2 separate regions of the Homo sapiens genome follow, and region 2 is linked to region 1. Evidence: promoter capture Hi-C in 16 types of primary human blood cells and fetal thymus (Javierre and others, 2016). All regions are on one chromosome and are shown on one strand. Each heading gives the region's core, a stretch centred on a gene start or on the middle of the fragment in contact. The rest is flanking DNA. Distances are from core to core; before and after follow the strand shown.

Region 1 (7,885 bases), core at 1,856-4,355:
AAATCTCCTGACTTCTCTGACACCAATTGGATGTTTTATTCACTTAGACTGTGGGTCTATACCAGCTGACTCCATGAAAAAAATAGACAGGCCCTTCTGGGGCCAGGTTGAACTACAGAGTCAGACAATGAACAAAGATGTGCTTTAGATTCTTCAGTTACTGAAATTGAATAACTCTTATTTTCTTGAAAGCAGAATAAAAGCAAAGCAGATTCCTAGAGTTTATATAACATTGAAATAAACACTTAAAAACTGTATTCCTCCTTTCTTTTCCTTTAGGTATATTTCCTTTCTCAGATATTATAAAATCTAAAATCTATGGCTATGACCAGTTAATTTTTGTTTAATGAAAGGATAAAAAGTTCACTTTATTGACGAAGTCACACTTCACAAAAAGATGCTGTGCTCAGTATAATTTCTAATTCCTTTACTCAATTTCATTTTCTCCACCTTTTCAGGCTGTAAGGTCAGCCTGATGAAAGAAGAAGGCAGTAAAAAGAGACCTTCAGCTGGCCCGGTCCCAGGCCTGGTTGCTGATAACAAAAAGGGCTCTGAATTAGACGTTTAAAAAAAATCAGATAGATAAGAGTAGATATCATGCCTAGACTCTCAACCCGGGCTAAGCAAAGCCTGAGTGAGCTTGTTCAGGTTTCAACCCAAGTGAAGCTGGACAAAATTGTTCATTTGTAGCTGTTCTTTATAAAGTTGCATGCACTCTCTAGCCAATATTTTCCACCCTCACATCCCAAGGGAACCATAGTAATGATAAAAACAAGTGGAGAGAGTGCTGAATATCAGTCCTCAATCACTCCCTCCCATAGCAAACAACCTATACAAGTGTCATGAAAAACTTCCCTGAGTGTTGGCAAAAAGCCGCTCTTGCAGTGTGCTTACGAGTTTAGTTTTTGAGCATATTGGTTTATCGATGGGAATATTTGTATTCTTAAAATCACAAGAGGTTGGCATAAGAAAATAAACTGCCAGGGATATTTGAAATGAAGTGCATTGTTCTGCTCAATGAGTCACATTTACAGACAGAGCCTTTGGAGCTGCCACACCTCTGGCCTTCTACTCTGAAGACACAGTGAACAAGCAGAAAAAAACTAGGGCTGGGAATTCAGTTTGGGAGAAAAGGCAGCTAAGCTGACCTTTGAACTTTAGGGTAAGACCCTTGGGCAGCCACGTAATGACCAGCGCCATCCCATTCTTCAAGGAGAGCACCATACTCAAGCACTGCCTGTCAAGAGGGAGCAAGAGGGAAACTGCTCTAGAACAGAGGAGATGCCTTCTAGAAAACAAGGGTGGGGGAAAGAATTTTTACACTATAACCCGGGGCTCCTTCACTATCTTGTTTTATTTACTTCTCCTGACTCCATTCATTCAGTCATTCAACAGAGAGTTTACTGAGATAGGTGCTGGGGAAGTACTGAATGAAAACAGACTCCATCCCTTCCTTCATACAGCAGGAAGCTGACAATCAATTATACAATATAAATTTGACATTGTTACCATGATCATACTGCAAAGGTGAGTTATCTGATGCTATGGAAGCATGAAAGAAGGGAATTTGACTTAGTTATGGAGCTCAGGCCAGGCTTCCAGGACACAGCTGGAATTTGAAGGAAAAGCAGGTGAGAAGAAGCATGAGAAAATGATTCAAGCAAGACAGCAAGGGGAAAAAAATTCCCTCAACATCTGTCAACATTGCAGTGCAATATCAAAGCCCAAGTTCAGAAGACTCCAACCTTGCTGGGAAGAAGAGTGACATCACACTGCCCATGAAGATGTTGAAAACAGACAATGTTGGTGAAATCCCTGTTGAGAGCAGGGACAGACCGTTTCCTAAATGCTACACTCCCCTCCCCAGAAATGTTCCGAGACGGGGCCACAGCAGGGAAGAGTCACAGGTTTTGCTTGCTGTGGACCTCTGACGCTGTGAATAAAACTTTTTCTTTAGTTTTACAATAGATGTCACTGTGCGGCATTCTTAAACACAAAGAAGAGGGAGAAACGAGGTTACTAAGATAATTTAGTAACTAAGAGAGAACATGATATATTGAAAAACAGTGGAATTTGGAGTCAGTTGGTTCATTCTAGTACGATGATAATACTCCCAACCTTGAACAAGTTACTTAGATTTTTTTGAACATTAGTTCTGTCACCCATAAAATAGGCATAATAAAATCCATCACTCAAAAAATGTTAGTTTCTTCTCTCATTGGCTAATTTTCATAATCAGAATTTCCAAGACTCATTATTTTCATTTGAAAAGTACAAATTATACCTGCATCAGAGTATTGATATTTAAATGAGTTCATTTGTAAACTTTAAAGCATGAGGTAAATATCAGGTATTATGAATCAGTCATAAAATATTTGCGATGGTTACTATATATTAGATCCTGTTTTTGGTCCTGGAGAAATGGAGGGTTGACTGAAGCAGGGCCTTGCCCTTAGGAGAGAGCTGAAGGAGAAATCTATTCTTCTTCCTGAGGCAGAGAGAAAAGGTAGCAAGGCCAGAGGGAAAGGGCTGCACAGGCACCCAAGTTCCTGGCAGTTGGCCCTCTCTGGGGGATATCTGATATCTGACCTCCAGCCATCAGCTGAGAGCTTGCCCAGACTATCTGACCCAAGGGCTGTAGGGACTGGGCTGCAGAATGGATTTCTAAATCTTCAAAATAAACAGGCAAGGAAATCTTGCAACAAATGAAAAATGACTTGAGGGCAGTAGAAAGTACTTGTGCCAACTGATGGAGGAGGTTATGAAAAATGAGGAGAGGAAAATCACTATAGACTTCTGTGTTTCTACTGCAAGTGGATTGAACAGTCCAGATATACTGATTTCCAGCCCATATTTCCTGCTTTTAAGCTCCTTTGGTCTTATTTCCCTCTTCTTTCTGAAAAGTTATAAAATGAATGAAGGGCAGAATGTTTCTTGCCCAACCATGATTCAGGAGGCAGCTCAGCCACAGAACAGGCAAGTGTAGCATTGCCTGGAGGAAAAGGACTTGTAGAGGCAGGTCCCAGATGGATCCACCCCAGACTTTTCAAAGAAGACACCTCCTTCATCTTGTGTTCTAAAACCTTGCAAGTTCAGGAAGAAACCATCTGCATCCATATTGAAAACCTGACACAATGTATGCAGCAGGCTCAGTGTGAGTGAACTGGAGGCTTCTCTACAACATGACCCAAAGGAGCATTGCAGGTCCTATTTGCAACCTGAAGTTTGTGACTCTCCTGGTTGCCTTAAGTTCAGAACTCCCATTCCTGGGAGCTGGAGTACAGCTTCAAGACAATGGGTATAATGGATTGCTCATTGCAATTAATCCTCAGGTACCTGAGAATCAGAACCTCATCTCAAACATTAAGGTGAGTGGAAATTATGAAATTGATACTAGCATCCCATTTGATCAGACCTGTAGCCTTATTTAGAAGCTAACTACCCTGCCTGGTTTGTATTTGAGTAATACAGAGAACAGCATTTTTAAAAGATAGCGCCACAACGTTATGATTATGGCTAACTAAGCCAGTTTGTTCATCTAATTCTGTGTAGTCTCAGCTCACAGAGTGTTGATCTAGCCCTCTATTTTGTTATTGTTGGTTGCTACTAATTTCAGCTCTTTTGTTTTCCTACATGACTGTTTTTGGGGTAGCAACTTAGAAAAATAACAACCCATTGTGGCAACAAAGATTGAATATTTAACTGATGAATAAGCATGATAATGAGCATGCTTGTTAAAATCATATTGCTAGATTCCATCCTGAGGGTGAGAATTCTCAGGCAGAAAGGGTGAGAGTCTGCACGGTGGGCCAAAAAGCAAAATTATTTCTTTTCACTTGAATGTGCTGTAACATAATTGACTATTTTTACTTTAATATGGCAAGGGAGGATCATAGCTCTATGATGTAAGAGCCTCCATTTAGTATTGCTTTAGTGAAATCAGTAGCATCATAAGGTGTGGTCTTGAATGTGCCCACAGGTGTGACATGAAAAGGATTTGTTCCACAAAAGCTTAAAAGCCTTTCTCAAAATTGGGAAAACTATGAAGGCAAGCACAGACATATAATTAGTGTCCTAAAATCTTCCATATAATCATTTAAAGTTTTTTTAAAAATTTGCTCCTATGTTTTCCCAAAGTCTAGGGCTTTCTCTAAAAGAAATGGGTCTCTTCAAAATATTTCATTGTCTTTTATTACTGTTTAAGCATACCAGAAAACCAAAACATACAGGATTTACAAGTGGTAAAGTAAGTTTTTCTTTTGTCTGGCTGTAGGAAATGATAACTGAAGCTTCATTTTACCTATTTAATGCTACCAAGAGAAGAGTATTTTTCAGAAATATAAAGATTTTAATACCTGCCACATGGAAAGCTAATAATAACAGCAAAATAAAACAAGAATCATATGAAAAGGTAAGAATCCAGGATTTCATTCAATGATCTCAAGGGGAAAAAAAACACCAAAATATACTGTGCTCAAACGATAAAAGTGAGAAGTTAAGTAAAAACAAATCATCAGTATTAACAATGCAAATAATATTAATGGGCAGAATGTTATCAACAAAATATATGAGAATAAATGAATGCAAATTGTGCAGTAAAAAATGAGTCAAATGCCATAGCCTAAGTAGTTTCTCAGAAGATCTCTTTATTTTGTAACTTATGGAGTACTTTCTGAAAAGTTTGGTTGAGGATCAAGAACTAGTTTTATCCTACTGAGGATGAGCTGCAAAGGGAACAGTTCCAATTATGACTATACCCATTTACCATCCTGTCAGGAGCAATAAACATGCATGTCCAGACAGAAATATAAACCACCATGCATATAAAAATATGACTGCCATCTTATGCCATGGTGTAGATTATCAGAATTTCACATTAGCTCAAGTCCAGAATATTGTTTTAGGGGAATAAGGAGATTAGAAGGAAGGGAGGAAGGATGTGGGGATGTGGATGAGTAGGGGAATGGCTACCTTTTTTTTTCCACCTATAGAGGAACTTCACCTTGAAAGGCTCTCATAAGTTGCAGATCATGATTAAGCACCCATGATGATGTCTGGTACATACTAGTGTGCACACTATAAATAAATGATAAATAATATAAATGGTAAATCACTGTTTGAAGTCAACTGTGAACAAGAGTCCATTGCAGCTACCAGAAGGGCCAGAAGTAGAGGCATTGGCAACTTATCTCAGGGTTTCAGCAATGGAGTGGGTTTGAGATTGTAACTACATCTCTAACAGAATGACTCAAACATGTGGTACAGCTTTCCCCTTTCCTTATTTCTGACCCTCAGTATGAAATTTCCTAAGTCTGTTTCATTCTTAGCTCTCCTTCAAAGCTACTCTGTCAGAAATTGAATGGTATAGCAATCCAGATAGGTACCCCAATGTCCTGAAGAAGTTAAAGAGCCTGTGAAAAGCATTTGACCTATGACCAGATGAAAGCATTTGAGAATGCTTGCACATGAAGATAGGATAGGTGGGGGAACTGGGGTAAGCTGGGAAGAGTTAGTGTTTAAGCTCCAACTAAGTGCCAGGCATTTTACATATATTATTTAATTCTCACATAACTTAAAATTAGTTTCTGTGATCACAAATTAAAACACTGGGGCTTGAATAAGGTATGGACTTTGTCCCAAATCTAACAGCTAGTAAATTACAGAGCCATAATTTGAATGTCTATTTGCCTCCAAAACCCATGCTTTTTGCACTAAGCTTTGTTGTCTCTAGCTGTCAATAGAGATTTAATGCATCTATTGGGCCTTCAATAGAACTAAGAAGTATTGGAGACAACAAACACCAAAACCAGGTTGCCATAGGTAACACTTGATCCTAATGGAGGGGAGAGAAATAAGTAAAGCAAAAGTGAAAATATGAGTGAACGGAAAGACCAAAGGAAACAATCGTCCCTGGATGCTGTTCATTTATCTGTTGGATACCAATTCTTTAACCTCAGAATGTCAATTAAGCAAACAGTGAATGATCATTATGTACGGGACCACGCTAGGCACTTCAGAGAACCCAAGGACCAGCAAGGTAGTTCCTGTCCTTCCAAGTCTACAATGAGATGTAGGTAGGAATCATGGAAGGGGGAAAGGGTTAGGAAAAGTAGATAAGAGCTGAATTACTGTGGTCTATAAGGTATAAAGTAACCCCAAACAGCCTCTGAGTATTCCATTCCATGAAGGGCACTCTTTCCTTTTGGCCTCAGGACAAATTTTCAGACATAGGAATGAGGTTTTACCCAAGTGAGGACTATCCAAGAGTGTGACCTCTTCAGCCTTTTTTGTAGGTACTTCCTTGTAATGACCTTGGCTTGAATTCTTATCTTTCTAAAAATAAATGTTAATTATTATAAAAGTAATTTATACTCATTGAAAAAAATTAAATAATGTAGAAACATGGAAAATAAAAATGAAAAATTGTATTGTCCTCTTCTTCTCAGTGGCACACACACAGACACAGATGGACACACATACATACACACACACACACACACACACACACAAAACACATATACATATTGTACATAGAGTGATAATTGTGTATATTGGATCGTATTAGATCTATTTTTCTAAAATCAGCTTTTAAAAAAACTTAACAGCATATTTAACTTTTAAGTGCATATCCAGAACAATCTGTCATCTTTCTTCCCAAAAATAAAAGAAACAATGTTATATATAACATTTTCTTGTCTTGATAGTTATATGAGTGGATATTTCAGTTTTGGACTTAAAATCTGTTTTAGCAACAGTAATGGAAATGGTCAGGCCATAAGATGAAATATAACTTCATTGGAATGATCGTTTTGCTGATCTAATTGGTTACAGGAAAGAAAGGACAAATTTTCAAAGAAATAATGTTCTATTGTCTTACACCAATAAAATAACCCACAGAAAGTTGTTCACAAAAGGCTGTAACATTTTACAGCCTTCTGAATGGTTCTGAACGATGTATAAATGCTTTTAGAATTTCTTCAAATATTTTAATTGCATTTTATAGTGTTTTGTTATATCAGACTTTTACAGGATTGACTTTTGAGAATATTTTAATCTGGAATGTGGAAAGATCAAATGGAAGTAATTAGGTTCCATAAAAATTTGCTAAGCTTTCATAACATAGACCTTTTTGGAAATCCCAAGTGATTTTATTGATATGTAGCTGTGGGTGCATTTTAAACTCCATCCACAAGGTGTTTTTCTTCAATTTTGTTTTTAAATTGGGTTATAATTACATACAATAAAATGCACACATCTTAAGTGTACAGTTCAAAGTGCTTTAATGAATGTATACATTTATGTCACCAACAACAGAGCTGAGAAAGTATTACAAGGCATTTCTTTTAATTTAGGCAAATGTCATAGTGACTGACTGGTATGGGGCACATGGAGATGATCCATACACCCTACAATACAGAGGGTGTGGAAAAGAGGGAAAATACATTCATTTCACACCTAATTTCCTACTGAATGATAACTTAACAGCTGGCTACGGATCACGAGGTAAGTGGGACCAATAAAACAATAGCCATTGGACAATACTACTTATAATATTCTGTGCTTGGTGCTGAAAGGGACTCACTCACAAAACCTGAAACTTGTCAAGGACTTACCACTCAAAGGGGGAGATAGGTCATATGCCCATGCAAAGATGAGGGGCTAAAGTGAACTCGAAAGAGTTTAGCACCAGATTAGTGGCCCAGAGAGGAGTGCTATAAGAATTCAATCAAGGAAACGTCATTTAGAGTCAAGGGTGGTCAGAAATGTCCTCACAAAGGAAAAGGTCTTCAAGATTGAACATCATTTTGATAAATGGAAAGAAGGGAGAAAATAGTGGGAAGACTATGAAGAAAACTGTGGCAGCAGAAAAATTAAAGGCATATAG
Region 2 (7,885 bases), core at 1,774-4,273, 88 kb after region 1:
CACCTGTGAAATCTTAAAATCCAGTATCCTATTCTGGACACAACCTCCTAACCCTCTGTGCTGTTCACTTCCTATCCCACTGAACTGACGTTGTAATTTCATGATGACTCCCATCACTTGATTGTTTCTTTTTACCTGGTCCATTATCTTTTTCTTTATATGGCCCCTATATGCCTTGGGATGTCACTTCAAGTCCTCCTTTGACAATTCCTTCAACTTCCACCTCTTAAGACACCTGCCCTGAAATCCTTTAGCTTTGCATTAAGCATGTTGTCTGTGTGCTTGAGACATTCATTTATCTATTCAGCAAATACTTTTAAAGTACCCACATTGTATCCCAAGTCCCATGTTAGACACTAAGATTACAATGGGTAATGAGCTACATGGTTTCTGCCAACTAAAGTACTATCAAGCGAACAGGCACTTAACAATGCGCAGATCTATAAGGAGCTTAAATTTACAAGACAAAAACAACCCCATTAAAAAGAGGGCAAAGAACATAAACAGACACTTCTCAAAAGAAGACATACATGCAGCCAACAAGCACATGAAAAAATGTCCAACATCACTAATTATTAGAGAAACGTAAATCAAAACCACAATGAGATACCACCTCACACCAGTCAGAATGGCTATTTTTAAAAAGTCAAAAAATAACAGACGCTGGCAAAGTTGCAGAGGAAAGGGGACACTTATATGCTGTTGGTGGGAGTGTAAATTAGTTCAACCATTGTGGAAAGCAGTATGGTGATTCCTCAAAGAGCTAAAAGCAGAACTACATTTGACCCAGCAAACCCATTACTGGGTATTTACTCAGAGAAATAGAAATCATTCTATCATAGAGACACACGCATATGAATGTTAACTGCATCACTAATCACAATACCAAAGACATGGAATCCACATAAATTCCCATCAATTATAGATTGGATAAAGAAAATGTGGTGCATATACACCATGGAATACTATGCAGCCATAAAAAAGAACAAGATCCTGTCTTTTGTGGGAACATGGATGGAGTTGGAGGCTATTATCCTTAGCAAACTAATGCAGGAACAGAAAACCAAAGACCACATGTTCTCACTTATAAGTGGGAGCTAAATGATGAGAACTCATGAACATAAAGTAGAGAACAACAAACACTGTGGTCTACTTGAGGATGGAGGGTGGGAGGAGGGAGAGGAGAAGAAAAAATAACTATTGTCCTCTGATCTTTATACCTGGGTGATGAAATAATCTGTACAACAAACCCTCATGACACAAGTTTACCTATGTAATAAACCTTCACATGTACCCCCAAACCTAAAATAAAAGTTAAAAACAAACAAACAAAGCAATGCACAGTATGTAGGGTCTATTTCAGGGGAAGCACATATTATAGGAACTCATGCTTTGCATACCTAATCCACATGTGGTATCTGCCAGAGAAAGTGATCCTTTTACTTTCATGATGTCTGGGTATATGTATAAAATAAGAAGAGAAGAGAAAAGCAAGAGAAAGAAATGAAGCAAAATAACCCTAATCGAACCTCTGTTTCTCCAAATATTACTACATCTCGGAATTAGTCATGCTGGGCAAAATCTGCTTCCAGGTATACTCTGGAATTCCTCTAGGGATTGAATTATTTTTTAATTAATTTTTTGTTGGATATTGGCAAGTTATAATTGTATATATTTTATGAGGTACAAAATGATTCTTTCATATATATATATATATATATATATATATATATATGTACACACAATATGGAATGATTGAATCCAGTTAATTAAGAAATCCGTCACTTCAAATTCTTATCATTTATGCCTCCTGTCTGGCTGAAACATTATATACTTTGACCAACATCTCCCCATTCCCCTAACTCTCCAGCCTCTGTTAATACCCATTCTACTCTCTGCTTCTATGTATTCAATTTTTTTAGCTTCCACGTATAAGTGAGAACATATGGCATTTGTCTTTTGTATCTGGCTTATTTCACTTAGAAAAATGTCCTTCTGGTTCATCCATGTCACAACATAATCTATTTTTTTAAGGCTGAATAGTATTCTATTGTGTGAATATATAGATAGATACATAGGGTGTGTGTGTGTGTGTGTGTGTGTGTGTGTGTGTGTGTGTATTATATATATATATATAATATATACACCTGTATATGTATGCATATACAGATACACATACATTCATCCAAACAGATGGATAAAGAAAATGTTCTATATATGGATGGACACTAAGATTGATTCCATAACTTGGCTATTGTGACTGATGCTGTAATGAACATGGAAGTACAAATATTTCTTCAACATAGTGATTTTAAAACTTTTGGATATATACCCAGAAGAGGATTTGTGGATTATATGATAATTTAGTCTTTTGAGAGACCTCTATACTGTTTTCCCTAATGGCTGTCTTAGCTTACATTCCCACCAACAGTATACTAGGTTCCCTATTCTCTACATCCTTGCCAACAACTATTTTTTGTCTTTATTATAATTGCCATTCTGATAGGTGTTAAGTTATATCTCACTGTGGTTTTAATTTGCATTTCCCCAGTAATTAGTGACGTTGAACATTTTTTTCATGTATTATTGACTATTTGTATGTCTTCTGTGTTGCTCCGGCTCATTTATCAACTGACCCAAAAGACTGCCAGTTTTGAGGGGGGTCCAGAACAGAAGGCTCTGCAACAAATCCAGGCTGCTGTGCAAGCTGCTCTGCCACTTGGGCCATATGACCCAGCAAATCCAATGGTGCTTGAGGTGTCAGTGGCAGATAGGGATACTGTTTGGAGCCTTTGGCAGGTCCCCATAGGTGAATCACAGCTAGGATTTTGGAGCAAGGCCCTGCCATCTTCTGCAGATAACTACTCTCCTTTTGAGAGACAGCTCTTGGCCTGTTACTGGGCTTTGGTGGAAACTGAATATTTGACTATGGGTCATGAAGTCACCATGCTCCCTGAACTGCCTATCATGACCTGGGTGCTTTCTGATCCATCTAGTTATAAAGTGGGGTGTGCACAGCAGCATTCCATCATCAAATGGAAGTGGTATATAATGTGATCTGGCTCAAGCAGGTCCTGAAGGCACAAGTAAGTTACATGAGGAAGTGGCTCAAATGCCCATGGTCTCTGCTCCTGCCACCCTGCCTTCTCTTCTTCAGCCTGCACCAATGGCCTCATGGGGAGTTCCCTATGGTCAACTTACAGAGGAAGAGAAGACTAGGGCCTGGTTCACAGATGGTTCTGCAAGATACACAGAAACCACCCGAAAGTGGACAGCTGTAGCAATACAGCCCCTCTCTAGGACATCCTTGAAAGACAGCAATGAAGGGAAATCTTCCCAGTAGGCAGAACTTCCAGCAGTGCACCTGGCTGTGCACTTTGCATGAAATTAGAAATGGCCAGATGTGCAATTATATACTGATTCATGGGCTGTAGCCAATGGTTTGGCTGGATGGTCAGGGACTTGGAAGAAGCATGATTGGAAAATTGGTGACAAAGAAATTTGGGGAAGAGGCATGTGGATGGAGCTCTCTGAGTGGTCAAAAACTGTGAAGGTATTTGTATCCCATGTGAGTGCTCACCAACGGGTGACCTCTGCAGAGGAGGATTTTAATAATCAAGTGGACCCGGTGACCCATTCTGTGGACACCACTCAGCCTCTTTCCCCAGCCACCTCTGTCATCGCCCAATGGATCCATGAACAAAGTGGCCATGGTGGCAGGGATGGAGGTTACTCATGGGCTCAGCAACATGGACTTCCATTCACCAAGGCTGACCTGGCTATGGCCACTGCTGAGTGCCCAATTTGTCAGCAGAAGAGACCCACACTGAGCCCTCCATATGGCACCATTCCTTGGGGTGATCAGCCAGCTACCTGGTGGCAGATTGATTATATTGGACCTCTTTTATCATGGAAAGAGCAGAGGTTTTTCCTCACTGGATAGAATAAGTGTCTATCCGGAATAGACACTTACTCTGGATATGGGTTTGCCTATCCTACACAAACGGCTTTTGCCAAGACTACATCCGTGGACTCACAGAATGCCTTATTTACCATCATGGATTCCATACAGCATTGCCTCTGATGAAGGCACTCATTTTATGGCCAAAGAAGTGTGGCAGTGGGCTCATGCTCATGAAATTCACTGGTCTTACCATGTTCCCCAACATTCTGAAGCAGCTGGATTGATAGAACGGTGCAATGGCCTTTTGAAGTCACAATTACAAAGCCAACTAGGTGACAATATTTTGCAGGGCTGAGGCACAGTTCTCCAGAAGGCCATGGACGTTCTGAATCAGCGTCCAGTATATGGTACTGTTTCTCCCATAGCCAGGATTCATGGGTCCAGGAATCAAGGGGTGGAAGTAGAAGTAGCACCACTCACCATCACCCCTAGTGATTCACTAGCAAAATTTTTGCTTCCTTGTCCCATGACATTATGTTCTGCTTGCCTGGAGGTCTTAGTTCCAGAGGGAGGAATGCTGCCACCAGGAGACACAACGATCCATTATACTGGAAGTTAAGATTGCCACCTGGACACTTTGGGCTTCTCCTCCCTTTAAGTCAACAGGCTAAGAATGGAATTACAGTGTTGGCTGGGGTGATTGACCCGGACTATCAAGATGAAATTAGTCTACTACTCCACAATGGAGGTAAGGAAGAATATGAATGGAATACAGGAGATCCATTAGGGTGTCTCTTAGTATTACCATGCCCTGTGATTAAGGTAATGGGAAACTACAACAGCCCAATCCAGGCAGGACTACGAATGATCCAGGCCCTTCAGGAATGAAGGGTTGGGTCACTCCAACAGGGAAAAAACATGGCCGCCTGAGGTGCTTGCTGAAGGCAAATGGGATACAAAATGGGTAGTAGAACAAGGTAGTCATTGGTATCAGCTACCACGACAGGACCAGCTGTAGAAACGAGGACTGTAATTGTCATGAGTATTTCCTCCTTCTTTTGTTAAAAACATGTTTGTACATGTACACACTTGTACCAAGAAAATATCTTCATTTTTTTTCCTTTCTCCTTTATCATGTGACATAAGATTTATTGACTTCACATTAGCATTTAAGTATCGTTAACTTTATGTATTTGGGTTGGGGACTGGTGCATTTTGGTTGTATGAAGGATAGTTGTATTATGTTAAGCGTAATTATGACCTTATTATTGTCTTTATTTGAAGATTATGTGTGATCTTAGGAGATGTGTATGGCTTCAAGTTGACAAGGGATGGCTAATACTGAGAGTCAACTTGATTCAGTTGAAGGATACAAAGTATTGATCCTGGGTGTGCCCTTGAGGGTGTTGCCAAAGGGGATTAACATTTGAGTCAGTGGGCTGGGAAAGGCAGACCCACCCTAAATCTGGGTGGGCACAATCTAATCAGCTGCCAGTGCAGCTAGAATATAAGCAGGCAGAAAAATGTAAAAAGAAAGACTGGCCTAGCCTCCCAGCCTACATCTTTCTCCCGTGCTGGATGCTTCCTGCCCTTGAACATCAGACTCAAAGTTCTTCAGTTTTGGAAATCAGACTGGCTCTCCTTGCTACTCAGACTGCAGATGGCCTATTGTGGGACCTTGTGATCATGTGAGTTAACATTTTAAAAAATCCCCTTTATATATTCCATTAATTCTGTCCCTCTAGAGAACCCTGACTAATACATCCTCTTTTGAGAAATGTCTGTTTAGGCCGTTTGCTTATTTTTTAATCAGGTCGTTTTCTTGTTATTGAGTTGTTTGAGTTCCTTATATATTTTAGATATTCCCTCTTTATTGGATGTATGGCCTTGCAAATATTTCCTCCCGTTTCACAGGTTGCCTGTTCACTCTGTTATTTGTTTCCTTTGCTGTGCAGGAGCTTTTTTGTTTGATGTAATACCATTTGTCTATTTTTGGTTTTGTTGCCTGAGGTTTGGAGTCGAATCCAAAAAAATCATTGCCCAGAACAATATCAAAAATAAAGAAAATATAAACACTATAATCTTTAAATTATACTTTAAAAATACACCTGACATATGGCCTCAATAGATTTTCATTGCCTCCAAGTAATTCTACATGGTTTCAGACTTTTAAAGAAACGCCAAAATCTTTCCCAAAAAAATCTGTTAGAGTGATTCATTAAACTAAGAAAGAGAAGACAAATCAACAAAGCAGTGTTCAAGGAGGCTTACAGTAAAATTTCACATAGACAGTCAAATCTAACAACCCAGGTAAGAACTAAATAAAGAGGACAAGAAAGTCATTCAATTAAAAAGCCCAAGCAATGCAAAGTTATTGTAATTGAGAAAAATCTATTTAACTCGGTTCCTGAACCCACATGCAAAAGGAAAACATGTTAAATGCTTCTTCCTAACCTATTTTAGCTGTTTCTAGAGATAAAGCTTTTCCTAAATTTCAAAGAAGCTCAGAATTCTTAAGGGGGAGGGGAGACTAAAAATTAGTGATGACCTGTACAATGGACAGCACAAATCAAACTCCAGAGGGCACACTGAGTTCACGTGTGATTCAGGCAGGCACAGGAATGCACTACTCCTACTGGTAGGGCATGGAAGTGGGACCCCAGGCAGCACTTTAAGGATCAAGGCAACCAGTCCATGTAGAGAAAAGTCTCCCTCCTCAGACACTAATCTGAGGTTTGGAAAGCAAAATACTACCACCATCATCACACCAACTCGGGGGGGAAAGTGCAGGGTGAGGGAGAGGTGAGCAAAACTCAGGGCCTTGACAGAGAAGAAAATGGTGTGATATTATTATCATTATCATTAATTATTTTATCTGATAATGATAACAGCTACCGTTTCCTGGGTTTTTTGTTTTGTTTTGTCTTGTTTTACTGAGTGCCAGGCACTAAGTGCTTCACATCTTCACGTCTAGGTCCTCCACTAATATTTGAGTGTCCTGAGGCAAGAGGACAAATGTAGATCCAGATACCATGTGTCTAAATATGTAAACATTATAAATCAGGCCTACAAGCTGTTACAATGTGTTATCTCCGGTCTTGACAAATATACCTTCATAAGGATTTGGAAGTCCAGGTTCAAATTTAAAATTCTTGGAAACCTCTTAGTGTGATGGTGGGACATGACACCTCAGGAACAGATGGGCCATGATTCACCATCTTCCTATCTTTCTCTACTCCACAGTCCAAACCCCAGCAGGCCTCATGCATATGGGTGTGGCCTCATCAGCCCATACACCACATCAATAGCTACCCTTTGTCCATCTTTCCAACCTGGAAGTATACATATCTTTGTCACAATCTTCCCTAGGAAGAACTCCAAGTCAGTTGTGGCACACACAGACCATGGAAGCAGGATGAGTCATTTGTCAGGGAATTTCATGTTGGGTATGTTATGCAGGTTCTAGAAATGTGGGGCTGTGGGAGGACACACACTGGGTGTCACAACCCCTTGGTCCTGTGGACTCTACACTCCATCGGAAGAGGACAGGACACATTACACAATTTTGGGGACCCAGTACAAAATGAAAATGCAGGACCAAGGCCTTATTCAAACATCAGGAAAAAAGTGTAATTAAAGTCACTAAAATATAAAGCTTTTTTCTTTCTTCCATAGTGCATCTCAGCTTGTCACGGTGTTTTTTTGTTTGTTTGTTTGTTTGTTACTTTTTTGTCATTTAATGTTCTAAGTAAAGAAAAATTATAATTCTAAAGTATTCATATGAATTTCACCACATGAATTTCACCACATAATGCATCTACATTATGTGTTGCCAGTTTTAAACACAAATGTAAGAACTTTTAACTTGTATATTGAATACACAATTTGTATTTTGTAGCTTGTACATGCATACTTACTTTGTTTTGTCAAAACAATGAAAATACTGCATAAAACTGGCTCAAGTGTTTTTATTTCACTTAA

What was found. The method cuts DNA at HindIII sites, captures the fragments that hold promoters and counts their contacts. A CHiCAGO score of 5 or more calls a contact.
Region 2: a contact is called between a fragment that was not itself captured here and the fragment with the promoter of CLCA2 in region 1, in 1 of 17 cell types (naive CD4 T cells). The highest score is 6.0, in naive CD4 T cells.

The regions. Positions count from the first base shown.
Region 1 is chr1:86,421,066-86,428,950 of GRCh38, forward strand. It overlaps CLCA2 (chloride channel accessory 2), which reads left to right and starts at 3,106. Exons shown (of 14, transcript NM_006536.7): 1 at 3,106-3,368; 2 at 4,274-4,411; 3 at 7,353-7,503. The coding sequence starts at 3,183. The HindIII fragment of the contact is 7,161 bases long and covers 1-4,009 here.
Region 2 is chr1:86,509,286-86,517,170 of GRCh38, forward strand. The region is part of intron 1 of LOC124904210 (a long non-coding RNA gene); the gene reads right to left. Among named protein-coding and RNA genes, the nearest start is that of CLCA4, 34 kb to the right of the region's middle. The HindIII fragment of the contact is 6,719 bases long and covers 1-6,383 here.